Linked DNA regions of Homo sapiens: region 1 is linked to region 2. Evidence: promoter capture Hi-C in 16 types of primary human blood cells and fetal thymus (Javierre and others, 2016). All regions are on one chromosome and are shown on one strand. Each heading gives the region's core, a stretch centred on a gene start or on the middle of the fragment in contact. The rest is flanking DNA. Distances are from core to core; before and after follow the strand shown. Region 1 overlaps LOC107985841 (a long non-coding RNA gene). Region 2 holds the start of NRIR (negative regulator of interferon response).

Region 1 (2,700 bases), core at 41-2,540, 2.7 Mb before region 2:
TTTGGAAGGTGAATTTTCTAGGAATTAATAATAATTCGTCCATTCATTTGTCCATTCAGGCCCCTCTGACCCTGCTCTAATTTTTGCACACAGCACTTTTCATCTGGTAACATGATGTGTGACTTTGCTATTATGGCTATTGTCAGTCTTTCCCCAAGTAGTGACCTGAGTTTCTTTCCTTCTCTGGTTTTATTAAGGCAGTATCTGGCACGTAGAAGGAATTCAGAAATACTGAATGAAGGAGCACCTGTTACGTACCTAGCATTGAGCAAGGAGCTAGCAATACAGAATAGAGGTATGACCTTCAGGTTCCCTACAGTAGTAGGGGCATCAAATAAACATATAAATCTAAATAATGTATGTATAACTATACATATATATAGTTTTGCATATATATAGTACTACTATATTTATATGTACATAATATATAGTATATATAATACTATATGTATAGTACTATCAAGTACAAGGGTATGGACAGATTCACTGGGGTCAGTAATACTATAAAGTACAAGGGTATGGACAGATACACTGGGGTCAGACTGATGCAGTTGCAAGTCTGAATCCCAGCTCTGACACTTAGTGTCTGATACTAGCTGGGTAAACATAGTTACATTGCTTAAGCAGCTTAAAACTCAGGCACCATATCTGTCAGATGAGTTAGTAATCTCAACTTTGTGGGGCTTGTGTGAGAAACAAGGAATAAGCAATATAAAATTAAGACAAGGAATAAAAGCATTAATTACGACTCTAAGAAAGTTAAAAGCCCCAAGGTAGAGAGTGCTATCAGCTGACTGACGAAGGGACCTGTTGGCCAAGTCTTGTGCCCCCATACCTAATGCCCACTTTTGGCCATGTGTGCTTCCTTTCTCTGGCCTTAGGGCTTCTCTAAATGGCTCCTATTAGAGGAAGCAACATTTTATTGATTGATTATAAAGAGAAGTGGAAATAGGATCTATTTGTATCTGCTATGATATGAATGTTTGTGTCTCCCTAGACTCATAAGTTGAAACCTAATTTCCAATGCATTAGTATTAAGAAGTAGAACCTTTAGGTTGGGGCCTTCCTGACTGGGATTAGTGCCCTTATATAAGAGGCCCTGGGGAGCCTGTTTGTCCTCCTACCATGAGAAGACATAGTGAGAGGGTGTTATCTGTTAACCAGAAACTGGATCCTCACCAGACATTTACTTTGCTGGTGGCTTGATCCTGAACTTCTCAGCCTTCTCAGATCCTGAACTTCTCAGCCTTATAAACAACAAATTTCTGTTGTTTATAAGTCACCTTGTCTAAGGTATTTTGTTATGGTAGCCCTAATGGACTTAGACAACATCTTTAAGGATGTGCATTTGGTAGAAGAGTGAATTTCAAAGTATAGTACCTAGGGGCTGGGTGTGGTGGCTTGTGCCTGTAATCCCAGAACTCTGGGAGGCTGAGACAGGCAGATCACCAGAGGTCAGGAGTTTAAGACCAGCCTGGCCAGCATGGTGAAACCCTATCTCTACTAAAAATGCAAAAATTAGCGGGACATAGTGGTGAGTGCCTGTAATCCCAGCTACTCAGGAGGCTGAGGCAGGAGAATCACTTGAACCTGGGAGGTGGAGGCTGCAGTGAGCCAAGATCCTGCCACTGCATGCTGGCCTGGGCGATAGAGTGAGACTCTGTTTCAAAAACAACAACAGTAACAACAAAGTATAGTATGTAGGACAACGGCATCTGCATGACCTTAAAATTGGCTAGAAACTTGCATTCTCAAGTTCTACCCCAGACCCACTCAACCAGAACCCTGGACGTGGGTCGCTGTGTTTGAACAGCCCTCCAGTGGATGCTGATGCTTGCTCAAGTGTGAGATCCACTGCCCTGGAGCACTTGGGGAATCTCGCATACCTCTCAAGTGTTCCAACCATTGACCATCGTCAGCCATTGGAAGATGCAACTGGAGTGTATGATACCTTTATACAGTTACTATGTCAGTGTTATTTCCAGCAAACTTCCACACAGTGCCTAGAAACAATGCTTTATGCCCAGTTGACAGAATTATTATCAGTTTAATCTCTAAAGTCTTTCACTTTTGTTTTATGTTTTAAAATGATTCATTGCATTTTTAGATCTTGGTATTATGCAAACACTGGTTTAAATGATCTGAGAGAGAAAGTTCACAATGATATTTGCTGCCAGTATAGCATATTAGGTGGTCAAAGTGTTCGGTAAATATTAGCTCTGGTTTCACCACATGCCTGTCAGGTTGGTGCTGTTTCTAAACCAGTGAACTGGAGTTTAAGGCTGTTCCATCTTTATGGGAAGTTGATATTTCAACAAATAAATGACAAGAATGAGGGGGATGAGGTTTGAGTCTAGTGGGGTTCTGCTGCTGATTGGTCATTAATTATATTTATGTTATTGTATCTTTACCCAGAGGCTGCCATGAAGAACACATTGATTTTTAAATTCAAGATAAAAATAAATGACTTATGGCCAAGGCAGTTTTCACTTTGATTTTTTAAACTGCAAATGCAGTTTAGGAGAAATTTGATCTATCTGCTTCTGATTCACTCACACTGGAATCATTCAGGTGTTGTTTGGTGAGTTCTATTTGATGTCCTTAAAATGTGAGGTGAGCTCCTGTGTGAACCCTTTTCTCACTTTTTCTTTACTTAAATATTCCATGACACCTTTTCCCAAAGGCAAATAAACTCCACAC
Region 2 (2,700 bases), core at 65-2,564:
GAGGGTTCCAGCTAAGTTTAGTCCAGGCCTTATAAGGTTGCCTTCCCTACATCTAATTCAAGCATCTTTAGAATAAGGATATCCATACTTAGTATAGTCATCCACAGTATTGTTTGGAACTTTACATGCTGGGAGGGAAGAATCTGTTTGGCAAATATAGTTTTGAAAGATCAGAGACGCAATATGTTCCAGCCAGTATCTTAGACAACCCTCCTTACAGCGGCTATTGGCCCAGACATCCCCTGTTCATTCACAAATCTGCAGATCACTGTCATTATCAAATATCATACAAGGGTCCAGGATTCCATGTGTGGGCATGTTTGGGAAGGACCATGTGCTATTTATTACCTGATAATAAGGTTGGCGAGGGGTGGCATTTCTGCCCGGGGTAGACATTCCCATTGGGAACTCCACCTGGGAGGTCTGGCTAGATTGTTAAAATTTTTCCACAGTCTCTCCCAATGTTTGGTGTCACCCTTGTTCCTTCTTAGTCTCCAGATCTCTGTGCTCTCAGCAATTACAAGCATACTGTTGCAATTATTTAAGGTTTCCCGAGTATGGTCCTTTTCCTTTACTCTTAAAGCAGAGACAGGCATTGGCTATCATTCTATCAACTTCACCTAGTCTAAGGGTGTGAGTTTTACCATCAGGAGGTGTGTCTTTCTGGGTGGAGTTAAAAATGCTCCCATACCATGTTCCCTTTATACCTATTAGGTCCTTAATGATTTAAGGTAAAGCCATCAGAGGGAAACCCTAAGATAGTGAGTTCTGAATCATCAAAGAGTCCATTGGTGTTATTAAACTGAGTAAATTGTTCAGGGCAAACCCAGTAATCAGTCTTGTTGTAGAGATCGGTAATATCTGATATTGTAGGAGCCAAAGAATGTGAGGCATTGCTACATCTAACAGTGAATGCTAGTAAACTTGATAGTAACAAAATCTTCATGTTTATCTCTTGCCTGTGACTACTATCCCTGCTATATGAATAATAACTAAGCAAAAGATTATGGCAATTGAGACTCTTTTCCCAATATTCCACTTAGAAGGTGCCACAGTATGCAGTCCTACTGCAAAGAGCAAGGTGAGTACAACAATTCCCATATGTGTGAAGTAATAAAGTTCCACTTTAAATCTTACTCACCGAGATATATAATTTCTTCGTGGGGGTGGTTTATGAGGTTATGAATGGAATCCCATGGATAATCAAAATCTCCCTGTAAGTATGTGACAAAGAGAAGTTCTAATATCTAACAGCAAATCTCAAGAGGAAAGGTAGAAATGACTTTAGTATCTGGTAAGGAAGGGTGGGATTGAACTGAACAGAGAGTTCCCACTCATTTACTTATCTTTTGGATTTTCAGTTTGAAATCCCCAGACTTTTCACACTGATATCTGAGATGTTCTTCTGGGATGTCAGGGGTCATTCCAGGCCTTGACTCGAGTGTGATGAATCCAAGATTCCAGTCCCACAAACTTCACTGCCGAGCAGGTGGAGAGAAGGATGGTATAAGGTTCCTCCCAGCTGGGACCTAGAGAGGGGAAAAGAGAGGAAAAATCCTTCACCAGTACCAAGTCTCCTTGGTAGAACAGAGGTGGCCCTAGTTCTTGGGGTTGGAATTCTGATAACTGTTTTAATTCCTGCTAGAACTGGGCCAGGGAGGTTACATGTTTAACCAATTCAGAAGTTCTCTGATGTAATATAAAATCATTGGTAAGGAAAGGCCGTCCATATACCATTTCAAAAGGGTGAAGGAACACCCCTTCAACCCCAAATTTGAAGGGGTGCTCCTCACCTGCACTAAGGCTATAGGAAGATAAGCAGTTTAGAGGAGGTGAGTTTCTTGAGACCACTTCCTGAGGTGTCTCTTAATGATATCATTTGTTTTCTCCACCTTCCCTGAAGACTGCAGTCTTCAAGCACAATGAAGATGGTATTGTATGCTCAGTGCTTTTGAGACCCCTTGGGTAACAGCTGCCTTAAATGAGGGGCCATTGTCACTTTGGAGGTATTTAGGGAGTCCAAAACGAGGAATTATTTCATTGACTAATGCTTTTATCACCTTAGAGGACTTTCTGTTTGACATAGAAATGCCTCTACCCAGCTAGTGAAGGCATCCACCCACAACAAGAGGTGCTGAATTCCCCTTATCTTTGGAAAATGGGTAAAATCCATTTGCCAGTCCTCCCCTGGGCAGTTTCCCATTCTTTGTGTTGCTGGGGATGGGGAGATGCCATTTGTTGAGGGGATTGTTTTTGAGGCAGATCTTATAAGCATTAACAATTTGTTTGACTGTTTTTGGTAGATATTTACCTGAGAACAACCTCTGGGCTATTTGATGAGTTTTATTCTTTCCCAAGTGAAAAGTTTGGTGAAGGATCTTAAGAACTTTCCACTGACTGGAGACTGACAAATAACATTTGCCATCCTCTGATTGTAACCATCCTGAGGGCTGAAAAGTGTATCCTCGAGAGGTGGCCCATTCTATCTCTGCAGGAGAATACTGAGGCTTTATTTCCCTTATGGAGCCCTCCCAAATTAGACAGCCTTCAAGTGTGCTGGGACTTTGGGGTCTTCTTACTGCTGACTTAGCTGTTTGGTCTGCTAGCCTATTTCCTTCAGCTATTTCATCCATCCCCTTCTGGTGTCCTTTGCAATGTATCATTGCCACTTCCTGCAGAAGGAAAACTGAGGACAACAAT

What was found. The method cuts DNA at HindIII sites, captures the fragments that hold promoters and counts their contacts. A CHiCAGO score of 5 or more calls a contact.
Region 1: a fragment that was not itself captured here is called in contact with the fragment with the promoter of NRIR in region 2 in 1 of 17 cell types (M0 macrophages); the score reaches 5.5 in M0 macrophages.

What each region holds. Positions count from the first base shown.
Region 1 is chr2:4,137,691-4,140,390 of GRCh38, forward strand. All of the region lies in intron 1 of LOC107985841 (a long non-coding RNA gene), which reads right to left. Among named protein-coding and RNA genes, the nearest start is that of LINC01304, 170 kb to the left of the region's middle. The HindIII fragment of the contact is 4,649 bases long and covers 1-2,700 here.
Region 2 is chr2:6,839,150-6,841,849 of GRCh38, forward strand. It overlaps NRIR (negative regulator of interferon response), which reads right to left and starts at 1,315. Exons shown (of 4, transcript NR_126359.1): 1 at 1,142-1,315. It also overlaps a transcript of CMPK2 not described here. The HindIII fragment of the contact is 12,024 bases long and covers 1-2,700 here.